2 separate regions of the Homo sapiens genome follow, and region 1 is linked to region 2. The links are contacts of gene promoters, found by promoter capture Hi-C in human tissues and cell types (Jung and others, 2019). All regions are on one chromosome and are shown on one strand. The core of a region is centred on a gene start or on the middle of the fragment in contact, and the rest is flanking DNA. Distances in the headings are between cores, read along the strand shown.

Region 1 (6,480 bases), core at 3,877-6,376, 310 kb after region 2:
CCCATTCTCTCTAACTGCTGCTTAATATTCTACATTTTGGATGTTCTGTAACTTATTTAAGTAATCTCCTCCAATAGACACAAGTTTTTTACAATCTTTTGTTAATAGTTACACTTTGAACATTTGTACAGCTTTTTTTTTTTTTTTCTTAAGAGGTAGGGTTTGGCACTGTCACTCAGGCTGGAGTGCAGTGGTGCAATCTCGGCTCACTGCAGCCTCAACCTCCTGGGCTCAAGCGATCTCCTGCCTCAGCCCCTTGAATAGCTGGGACTACAAGCACGCGCCACTACATCTGGGTAATTTTTGTATTTTTTGTAGAGATGGGGTTGTAATTTTTGTATTTTTTGTAGAATTGATGTTAACCCATCAATTCTACTTCTAGAAATAAACCCTGCATAAAGAGCTGTACGCCAGTCTGGGCAACATGGTGAAACCCCATATTTAATTAATAAGGAAAATTATCTTTAATTTTCCTAAATACTGTGGGGATTTATTTTTAAGTTAAAAAAAATCTTAGCCACAGAGGCCCATTACAAAAAAAAATTGAAAACTACAGAAAGCTACAGAGGGGCCAGGCGCAGCGGCTCACACCTATAATCCCAGCACTTTGGGAGGCCGAGGCAGGCAGATCACAAGGTCAAGAAATCGAGACCATCCTGGCCAACATGGTGAAACCACGTCTCTGCTAAAAATACAAAAATTAGCTGAGCGTAGTGGCATGCCCTGTAATCCCAGCTACTCGGGAGGCTGAGGCAGGAGAATTGCTTGAACCCGGGAGGTGGAGGTTGCAGTGAGCCGAGATCGTGCCACTGCACTCCAGCCTGGCGACAGAGCAAGACTCTGTCTCAAAAAAGAAGAAAAAAAAAAAGAAAAGAAAGAAAGCTACAGAGGGGGGAAAAATATCACTCACAGTGTCTCTGTCCAGCAACCACAATTGTTTACTTTTTGGCATGTTTTCTTCCATTATTTTTTTATGCCTGCTCCTGTTACAGTGGTCAGAGACTGGGTCTCCCTATATCACCCAGGCTGGTCTCAAAACTCCTGGCCTCAAGTGATCCCCCTGCCTCAGCCTCCCAAGTACTGAGACTGTAGGCGTGAGCCACCATGCCCAGCTTGCATACACAATTTTCTATCTAGGACTTCATTACTTAATGTTATAAGCATTTTCCCATGTCAATAAAATTTTTTATAAACATTCTTTTTATGATTTCATGGTAGGCAGTACATGTACATACCATAATTTTCTTATCTGTTCCTCTGTTGTTGGGCTTTTAAGTTGCCTACATCTTTTTCCTGTACGATAACACCTCAGTGAATATCTTCTTGCATAAATCTTTGTCTGAAATCCATTAACTTCCTTAAGCTAGATTCCAAAAAGGAGAAGTACTGGGTCTAGAGGCAGGGAATTTATTTTTTTAAGTTGAATTTCGAATTGTTGTTATGTAAACATGGCACACAATTCCAAAGGTACTAAAGGTTACACAATAAGAATAATAATTCTCCTGCTTGGTCGTTTAGCAGTGATTCCTTCTTTTTTTTTTGCTTTTTTCTTTCTTTTTTTTTTTTTTCACTTAAAGGCTAGTGTGATAGTTAGGTTTTTCTTCTTAAAGGCAATGTGGTTGCCTGTTTTCTTCATGTGTATATTTCTTATGGGGGAATCTATATATTTAAATATATATATTTTAAAATATAGATCCCTTTTTCATATAGAAACAGTAGCACATCAGATACTTTTGCACTTTCCTCTTTTTGCTTAATATTTCTTGATGATTGCTCTATACATAAAATAGAGAACTGCCTTATTTTCTTAAAATATTGCATAGAATTCCTTTAAATGGAAGTGCCAGATTAAATTAATCAATTCTATTGATACATTTCTGGGTTGTTTTTCATCCTTCGCTCCTGAAACAGTGCAGTCATGAACGTCCTTACGTGTGTATGCCATTTTGTATATGTGCAAGCACACCCATCTCTACAATGGATTCCCTTAAAAGGAATTGCTGGGTCCCAGGGATTTTACATGTGGAAAACTATTGCTATCTCCACAGAGGGTGGCCATTTCCCGAGTAGAGGATACGCACAGTTTTTAAAGCTCTCGATAGAAATGGCACTACTGCTTTCCAGAAAAGTGTTCGTTACCTGTTTACACTCTCATTCGCGCGCTGCTCCCTCCTCCCACGGACCTGCCTGGCTGACAAGTTAAAACACACACACACACACACACACACACACACACACACAAAACGGTATGGAGATGTCTGCAGGGTTTATTCTCAATAGTCATTATTTCAAAAGGATCTGTGAAAGATTAGCAAAGGTTTGCAAATATTTAACTTTTAGACCCTTTCTAATACAAAAATATTTAAAACCCAGGATCTGAATTTCCTAGCCCTCGTTTTTTCCACGCGTGACCTTGGCAAATGACTTCTCCTTTCCAAGCCTGTCATGTCTTACAATTGTCGTGGGGAGGAAGTGAGATATGACACTCAGTGAAGTGCTTGGCACACAGCAAGGACTCAAAAGTTGGTCGCTGGGAAGAAATGGTGGTGAAGGAAAAAGCGCCAGCCCTCCGAGTCGTCCCAGCGGTCAGAGGAAGGGAGCCAGCCTCCCAGGCTCCAAAAATTGGGCTGGGCGGTGCCGGCGGCTTTTGTTCTTTCCCTCGAATTCTCTCGCTGGTCTTTCCTTCCTTGAAGAGGAAAACGGAAACCTGCGACCAGCTCCCGGAGAGAAACACCCAGACCAAGACTGGCCCTTAACCGGGGATGGGGCCTAGGGGCTGGGTCCTCTCCCGAGTCACTGAATCCACTTCGGGGAAGCCCTAGCAGACTTTGGTCCGCACCCGGAGTGGAGGACCAGGTTCCTGCCGCGGGCGTCCCCAGCCTGCTCCGAGACCCGGAGTGCCAAGTGCTTCCATCCCTAGTCGTTTCTTACTCAATCCTAGTTCTTCCTGAAGCTAACGGCAGGCACTGGCCGCGGCGCCTCCCGGGCGGGCACCTCCCAGCGACCTGGGTGGGCGCGGCCGCGTGCGCCCGGGGGTCTGGGCTTCTCCGCCACTCGCGAACGCGACCTCGTGCGGTTTCCCGCAGCCCTGGCTCCCCGCCAGCCAGAGACCCCACCCGCTCCCAGGTCCCCGCGAGCTGCCGGGAGGGGACGTCGCGGCACGTGTCAGTACTGCGGTCGGGCTTGCACCTCCGCCCGGATGCGGATTGGCCCTGGCGGGCTCCGCACCGCCAGTGAGCCCGGCCTTCTCTTCTCCTAGCACAGAGCTGCTGCCCTGAAAAATCAGCTGTTAGAGACGCCATTTCGGTCCCCACCCTTGTCTCAGCCAAGGAAGAGCCAATCACAACGCTTGTGTGTCGCTGTGCAAGCCGCAGGTGGGGTGGGAGAGCAGATCCGTGGAGCGCAGCGAAGCCATTTTCTGGAGGATTCGCAGTCATGTCCACTGCTGCTGGATAACTTCCACTGATGGTGGGATAATCACCATGTTTAATTTCAGCCATTCCCTCCCCGCCAACTCCCTCTCACACCGTGGCCTTTCCTTTCCCCAAGCGATGTGGGGTCTAGTCTTGACCCTGAACCTAACCCACTCTGTGACCCAGCCTCAGGCCTCGGTCTTTTCAGCTACAAAAATGCAAGGAAGGAATAAAATTAGACAATGGCAAATATTGGTGAGGTTATGGGGAAATGCATTCTCTGGATTTGTCTTTAAACTGGAAATATTCATGACATGTGCCAGATAATCCTATGTCTTGGTCTCTACCCTAGAAAAATATTTGCACATGTACTCAGGAAGGCTGTCTCTTGCGGGACCATATCTAATAACAAACCACTGAAAAGAGCTCAAGGGCTGTCCATAGGGAATGAATGAATACAATGGGGTCTATCTACATAACGGGTCACTGCATCACAGAAGGAATAAGCCAGATCTATGCATGCAGAGAAATGGATAGAGCTCTAAAATATATTAAGTAAAAGTAGAAAGTTGCACAATAATGCATACAATATAATACAATTTTTGTAACATGTTAAGCAGAACTGTGGATTTTCTGTGATTACATTCAAACAGAACATAAAAGCATTTTTTAAAAAATAACTGAAAAATTATTTTCAATTCAGTTCTTTTCAGTTCAGTTCCAGTTCACTCCTAATTCATCTGAGTGGCTGTCTCTGGAGAGAGGGGCGGGGAGTTGGGATAGCAAGTGGAGATGAGAGGCAACTTCAGCTTTCTTTGTAATATTCTAATTTTATTTTTTAAAATGAGAGCCGGGTGCAGTGACTCACCCCTGTAATCCCAGCACTTTGGGAGGCCAAGGCAGGCAGATCACGAGGTCAGGCGTTCAAGACCAACCTGGCTAACATAGTGAAACCCCATCTCTACTAAAAATACAAAAATTAGCCGGGCGTGGTGGCGCCTGTAGTCCCAGTCACTCGGGAGGCTGAGGCAAGATAATCGCTTGAACCCAGGAGGCGGGGGTTGCAGTGAGCTGAGATCGCGCCACTGCCATCCAGCCTGGGTGACGCAGCGAGACTCTGTCTCAATAAATAAATAAATAAATAAATAAATAAAATAAAAATGGCAGTACATTAATATATTACTTAAGGAATTTTAAGCTGCATGTTCATGAAATACTGGAGACAAGTATGTCAAAATGTAAACAGTGGTTTAATTCCAGGTGATAGGAAATATGAATAATTGTTATTTTCTTCTTTGTACTTTTTGGGTTTTTAGTTTTTCAACATGCAGGGAAGGGATTCAAGAGTGACTGTGTGACCCATCAGGTCCCTCAGCTCAAAGAACCTGCAATGTTGTGATTCTAGATGGTCATCCTTAAAGTCCTAGCTCCCCGCCCAACCCCAAAGGGCTTACACATTTTGCAGGGCAGGGGAGCCTCAACACTGGCGCTCCACTGGGGAAAGTTCTTGGCTTCCACCAGGAAAGAATTCAAGGGTGAACTAGTGGTAGAAGAAAACAGCTTTATTGAGGCAGCAGTGTTACAGCTCCGTGACTGTTCCCACTGAGGAGAGAGTGGAGTCTAGCAGCTCAGGGGCAGTTCTGCAGTTTCATTTATATCCACTTTTAATTACATGCAAATTAAGGGGCAGGTTATTCAGAAATTTGTTTTTATTTGAGACACAGTCTCACTCTGTCGCCCAGGCTGGAGTACAGTGGTACAATCTCGGCTCACTGCAACCTCCACCTCCCGGGTTTAAGTGATTCTCCTGCCTCAACCTCCAGAGGTGCTGGGATTACAGGTGTGTGCCATCATGCCTGGCTAATTTGTGTATTTTTAGTAGAGATGGGGTTTCATCATGCTGGCCACGCTGGTCTCGAACTCCTGACCTCGTGATCCGCCTGCCTCAGCCTCCCAAAGTGCTGGGATTACAGGTGTGAGTCACCGCGCCTGGCCGGTTATCCAGAAATTTCTAGAAAAAGGTGGTAACTTCCAGGTTGTTGCTAGGGAATGGGTAAACTGTCATGGCACTGGTAGGCACGTCAGCCAGTCTTAAATCTCATTCAGTGTCGAGTCCTGCCTCCTACCTCACAAGGAATGGCCTTGGTGCTGCTGCCCCAGATCCCCTCCCCTGTCTCAAATCCAGGGTTAACATCCCTCAACTTGAAACCTGCTGGAGGGACAGGGCAAACTACTTGCAGTTCAGCTACTGCTCTAGGCTGGCTTCTTCTAGGCATTTGGCTGTGCTATTTCCTCTTCCTGGCACCCTCTCCCCATTCCTCTTTGCCTACAAGCTTCCTTCAGGCCTCATCAGCTCAGCCACCCCTTTCTCTAGGAGGCCTTCCTTGTTTCCCCTCCGCTGCCTGGGTTAGCCTCTGCTCCCCTGCGCCCCATCAGTGCTCTGAGCTGCTTGTCTACTTACTATGAGCTCTTGAGGCCAGGGACATGCCTTCTTTCTTCCTGTGCTCCCAGGGCCTAGTACAAGACATGACACCTCATGGTTCATCAGTAACCTTCTGTTGAATGAATGGACAATCAGCATCAAAACAACAAATTCTTCCCTGGGCTGAGTTTTCTGGTACTCATCCTAAAAACTCTGCGGAAGGTAAGAGGCAGAATCAGGATGTGAACTCAGAGACCCTGACTCCAGAGCCCACACTCTTAACCACTGTGCTCTGAGCCCCTAATGAACTTGGCTGGTTCATATACCAACTATGTATTGAGAACCTAGTATTTGTCAGGCACTGTTCTATGGTAATGAAGAAAACAGACTTGAAAAACCAACTGTTGGGTAATCTATGCTACCATCTGGGTGGCAAGATCATTGGTATCCCAAACCTCAGCATCACACATTATACCCATTTAAGAAATCTGCACATGTACCTCCTGAAATAAAAGTAGGATTTTTTTTTTTTTTTTTTTTTTTTTTTTTTTTAGACAGAGTCTCTCTCTGTCGCCCAGGCTAGAGTAAAGTGGCTCAATCTTGGATCACTGCAGCCTCAGCCTCCCAGGTTCAAGCATTCTCCTG
Region 2 (5,984 bases), core at 1,718-4,217:
ATCCCTCCCCTTGGCCAATGGCATTCCAAAGTTAAGCTGAAAAACCTGTTAAGGCCATGATGGTGGTAGTGGTGGTGGAGTCCTACACCCCTCATTATACCCTCCTCCCTTCTGGAATTTAGGAAAAGCATTAACATTAACACAGATGTCTGTAAGAAACATTTATAATCTATTCTCTCTAAAGCCTACTATTTGGAGGCTTCATCTGTACAATAAAATGTTGATCCCCAGGATACCTTAACCCAGACATTCCTTTCTATTGATAACAACTTTCAACCAACTGCCAATCAGAAAATTTTGAAATCTACCTATGACCTGGAAGCCCCCACCCACTAAGAGTTGTCTTACCCTTCCAGATCAATGTAAATCTTACATGTATTTGACTGATGTCTCATGTCTACCTAAAATGTTTAAAACCAGGGCACACGTTATCAGGATCACCTGAGGGCTGTGTCAGGGGCCACTGGTCACCCATATTTGGCTCAGAATAAATCCCTTCAAATATTTCAGAGTCTGACCCTCATTGACAACAAATATCTCAAAAAAGAAAAACAGAAAGAAAGAAACCCCGTAAGGAGTAAAACAATACAAAATAAATCATTCTTGACTTAAGAATTAGATGAGCTACTGGTGGAAATTTTTGGGACAACTGAAGGAGACAGAAATTTCCTGGGATAAAAATGAGAGAAGTGAATGTACAAGAAGTAACACACCAGTTATAAAGCTTAGAAAGGGAGTGAATGGAGGCAGACAGAGGGGAAAAAAAAAAAAAGCACCCAACAGGATTGGTTTCCATCTTCAAAGCCCTTTAAACTACAGAAACAGTCACTCATTCAACAAATTTAACATGCATTCTGCACTTACTACCTATCAAACACTGTGCTCAACACTTTTTAAGTATCATGTCTCATGTTTCATGTTCACATCAACCCTATGAGGCAGTTACTATTATCCTCATTTTATGGATGAGAAAATAAAGGTTTACAGTAGTGAAGGTCATATGGCTAGGAAGAGGCTTCAAAGCCAGGACTGTACTCTAACGCTACAGTAGTCTAGTCAGCATTCTACATGTGACAAAACACAAAAAAAGAGATCAAGCATGGCACCACAAGTTGGAGTTTCTGCCTCAGACAGCTAGAGCTGCAAGCCTCAATTATATGAGCAGTAAAAGCTCATAAAATTTCTTCACTTTGTCCTTGGTCATCACCTAGGCTTTATTTCTCAAGTTGCTACCCAAGAATTAGATTTTGACTGCCGTAAGTATTTTTCCCCTATAAGAATTACAATCTAAGTGTGGCCGGGCGTGGTGGCTCACGCCTGTAATCCCAGCATTTTGGGAGGCCGAGGCGGGCGGATCACCTGAGGTCGGGAGTTTGAGACCAGCCTGACCAACATGGAGAAACGCCGTCTCTACTAAAAATACAAAATTATCCGTGCATGGTGGCGCATGCCTGTAATCCCAGCTACTCGGGAGGCTGAGGCAGGAGAATCGCTTGAACCTGGGAGGCGGAGGTTGCGGTGAGCCGACATCGCGCCACGGCACTCCAGCCTGGGCAACAAGAGCAAAACTCCGTCTCACAAAAAAAAAAAAAAAAAAAAGAATTACAATCTAAGTGTGGAACATCATGCTTGGCAGCTGTTAAGAGAACCACATCAAGACAAGAGAGGATTTGAAGGGATACACAGACAGCTGACACAGACACACGAAGGATCTCACACCATTACACTATTTTCACCGCCTTGATCATTCATTAAACCTTGTGAAAGAGAAGCCAAATCCTTGACAAGAAGTTGCCTTTACAAAGAAAAGTCGTGAGACATACAAAACCACCAGATCACTATAAAGCAGACAAGGTTTGAGGGCAAATAAATGAGGCCTGGCTAGCTTCATCGTCCTTGTATCACCACCGCCCCCTACTTATCCCAGTGTTCAATTCATCAACCGAAATTTACTGCGTGCCTACTATGCGCCTGGCTCTGAGCCACGTGTTGGGAATGTACTGGTGTAAAGGATCGCTCTCATTAACTGAGGTGAAGTAAGCGTTGAATATACTGTTGAACAAATAAACCTGAACACACTAACTTTCAGTTCAACCAAAGCACCAGCTCCTTCTCGCTGAAGGAAGCTTCCTCACCTTCCGCCCTACTGACATTTTGGGGGATTTTTCTTTGTTGTTGGGGGCGTCCTACACACAGTAGGCTGTGTAACAGCATCCCTGGCTTCTTCGCACTAGATGCCAGTAGCAAGCCCTGGAGCTGTGACTATCAAAAGTGTTTCCAGACATCGACCAATGTCCCCAGGGAAGCAAAATCGCCCCGGCCGAGAAGTACCGGGGTAAGGCCCCGCCAAGTGCTTTCCGTCCCACAACCTTAATTCTCTACACAGCCTTCCAATCTCGGCTCAAACTTCTCCTCCTCGGGGAGGGCTCCCTGACCTCTCCGACTAGATCCGCGCCTTCTGTTTTGCGCTCTTTGTAAGATTTCTCCACTCTACCCTCACTGCGCGCCGAGGGATTACCCCGCTTAACGTCGACTCCCAGGGCTGTGCGCTCCGCAAGGGCAAGGAATGCGCCGCTCGCTGTGTCCCTGGCTATCGGCACAGGGCCTGGCACGCAGGTAAAGTGACTGCCGTGGGGTGAACCACGGACGGCAAAGCAAGGCAACGGGGGAAGCGAGGGGAATGGGACGCGAGAGGGCGTATGCCGGGGCACTGGCTTCGGAGCCGAGGCGCATGCGCTTCGCTCTCCCCGGCCCCTCACGGTGGCAGGTCGCGAGCGTCTGAGGCTTCGCCGGAGCTATGGGAGGAGAGGCAAGGTCGGCCACTAGGACTGAGGCTCCCGAAGGAGGAAAACTTACACGGGCCTGAAAGCGGGCGGCGAAATCCCTCACTCGGGAAGACTGACTGCAGCCACCACGTCTGCGGTGAGCGGTGGTTCCCTCCCTCAGCTCCTCTAACGGCCGTTGCACGCCCGCCAGGCCGCGCGCCACAGAACGCGCGTCGTTTGGCCCCACCCCGTTCTGCCGCCTCTGGCCAATCGGGAGTCGAGCCGCGCCGGCTTCCCGCCCCTTTCTATCCTCTTCTGACCAATCGGCAGCCGAGCCGCGTCGGTATCCCGCCCCCACACGCTACCCTCTGCTCAGAGAGCCGGACGGATCTTTCTGCGCATGACCACGTCGCCACTTGGCTCCTTCTCTGCCCCTTGCCGCGTTTTACCTGTAGGTGGAGCTCTGCTCACCTAGACCTGGAGGGGCCCTGCTGGGCCTGTGCAGGTTGGGAAGCTGGCGGCCCGCGGGCGGGGCTGGGGACACGAGAATCCCACTCAGCTTGCCTCACCCTCCTTCCATTCCAACGCCGGTCTATCAGTTCTCACACCTGAAGCAGGGGTTCAGGTTGTGACCAGGAGTTAGGGTGTGGCCTGGGTCACTGACTAGTCAGGGTCAAGGCTTGGTCTGGGTTGGACGCAGTGGTCAGCCTGTGACCAAGGTTCAGGTTGAAGGGTAAAGGATCAGTCCTGCCTCCCTCCCCAAACTTGGTCCACAGGAAAAGGAACTGTTAAGTCCATTTGCATTAATATGCGCTTGAAGAGTCAGACAGGAAAATTGTTTGAAAGGAGAACAGAACCATCAGCCAAAGGAATGAATCTCAGATAGTGAAATTCTGGGTATCTAGAAACCTGACTTGGCAGGGAGAGATACTAAAAAATTGTATAGGAGGCCGGGCGCGGTGGCTCATGCCTGTAATCCCAGCACTTTGGGAGACAGAGGAGGGCGGATCACGAGGTCAGGAGATCGAGACCATCCTGGCCAATATGGTGAAACCCCGTCTCTACTAAAAATACAAAAATTAGCTGGGTGTGGTGGCGCATACCTGTAATCCCAGCTACTCGGGAGGCTGAGGCAGCAGAATCGCCTGAACCAGGGAGCCGGAGGTTGCAGTGAGCCGAGATCGTGCCCCTGCACTCCAAAAAAAAGTTGTATGGAAAAAAAAAGTTGTATAATTTCTTAGCTTTAAGAGCCAGACAAAGTGAGTTCATTACTGAATAAAAGTCACTCTAGAGGAAAGACCCTAGGGATGTGCCCCAAGGTTGTATCCTTTGTCCTCTCTTTTAGTATTTTAAGATAAGAATATAGAAGACATAAAATAGCAGATTTAATGGATAATGAAAATGAACCTGGGTATGATATGAAATTAGGACCAGAAGCCTCTGTTAACGTAAAGGCTAAAAAAAAAAATGTTAAGACAGGGTGTCTAAATGAATAAATTTATGGACTGAAGGGTAGAAAGCTAGAAAGTGTTAGTCCTGGCCGGGCACGGTGGCTCACGCCTGTAATCCCAGCACTTTGGGAGGCCCAGGCAGGTGGATCACTTGAGGTCGGGAGTTTGAGACCAGCCTGTGGCCAACATGATAAAACCCTACTAAAAATACAAAATTAGCCAGGTGTGGTGGTGGGCACCTGTAATCCCAGCTACTGGGGAAGCTGGGGCAAGAGAATCACTTGAACTCAGGAGGAGAGGTTGCAGTGAGCCAAGATCACTGCACTCCAGCCTGGGCAACAGAGCGAGGTTCTGAAAGAAAGAAGGAAAGAAGGAAAGACGGAAGGAAAGAAGGAAAGAAAGAAAAAGAAAGAAAGAAAGAGAAAGAAGAGTCAGAAAACATTGAAAGGCTTCCATTTCTTTTGTGAAAGGCATATGTGAGGAGGGAGGGAACAGGGGCATCTAGAGGACTGAGAAGAATTAGGAAGATGTGAATTGCTGATACAGAGGATAGAAGAGAAATCCGACTGGAAACATAGTGGAAGTGTTGAGATTTAAATTTACAAATAGCAAACAGTACATTTGTACAGTTCTTTGTAATAGATATCTATAGTTTAAAAGTAATTCCATTATCTACTGTCAATTTTCTTTTTTGTTTTGTTTTGAGACAGAGTCTTGCTCTGTCACCCAGGCTGGAGTGCAGTGGCACGATCTCAGCTCACTGCAACCTCTGCCTCCCAGGTTCAAGCAATTCTCCTGTCTCAGCCTCCTGAGTAGCTGGGACTATAGGCACCCACCACTACACCCGGCTAATTTTTGTATTTTTAGTAGAGACGGGGTTGCACCATGTTGGCCAGGCTGGTCTCGAACTCCTGACCTCAGGTGATCTGCCCGCCTTGGCCTCCCAAAATCCTGGGATTACAGGCGTGAGCCACCGTGGCCGGCCCTACTGCCAATTTTCAAATGTGAATGACTTGTCATATGTATATATATACATATATGCTAGTCAGGGTTATTGCACAGTCTGAGGCTAGGGTCAGGGCTTGGTCTGGGTTGGAGGCACTGGTCAGCCTGTGACCAGGGTTTAGTTTGAAGGGTAAGGAATCAGTCCTGCCTTCCTCCCCAAACTTAGTCCCCAGGAAAAGGAACCATTAAGTCCATTTGCGTTAATATGAGCTTGAAGAATCAGACTGGAAAATTGTTTCAAAGGAGGAACACACACACACACACACACACACACACACAGACACACATGCATTTGAGAAGGAGTCTCTTTATGTTGCCCAGGCTGGGCTCAAACTCCTGGGCTCAAGCTATCCTCCCGTTCAACCTCCAGAGTAGCTGGGACTACCAGCATGTGCCACCACTCTCAGCTCATTTATATTTTAACAGAGACTTTTGGTCCTAGTTTCAGAGAATATTCATGACCAACCTCTTTAGATATATTCTTTGTTTTTTTCTGAGATGGAGTCTTGCTTTGTCGCCCAGGCTGGAGTGCAGTGGAGCGATCTCGGCTCACTGCAACCTCTGCCTCCCGGGTTCAAGCGATTCTTCTGCCTCAGCCTCCTGATTAGCTGGGACTACAGGCGCACGCCACCATGCCTGACTAATTTTTGTATTTTTAATAGAGACGGGGTTTCACCATGTTGGCCAGTCTGGTCTCAAATTCCTGACCTTGTGATCCACCCACCTTGGCCTCCCAAAGTGTTGGGATTACCGGTGTGAGCGC

The links. Contacts are between HindIII fragments. The study calls those that stand out against the background at their distance.
Region 1: a contact is called between a fragment that was not itself captured here and the fragment with the promoter of CEP85 in region 2, in 1 of the 25 tissues and cell types used here (bladder).

What each region holds. Positions count from the first base shown.
Region 1 is chr1:25,919,477-25,925,956 of GRCh38, reverse strand. No RefSeq gene overlaps it. Among named protein-coding and RNA genes, the nearest start is that of MIR3917, 16 kb to the right of the region's middle. The HindIII fragment of the contact is 9,013 bases long and covers 620-6,480 here.
Region 2 is chr1:26,231,183-26,237,166 of GRCh38, reverse strand. It overlaps CEP85 (centrosomal protein 85), which reads right to left and starts at 2,967. Exons shown (of 14, transcript NM_001319944.2): 1 at 2,857-2,967. RefSeq lists enhancers at 2,099-2,148, 2,239-2,298, 2,619-2,768. The HindIII fragment of the contact is 8,629 bases long and covers 1,426-5,984 here.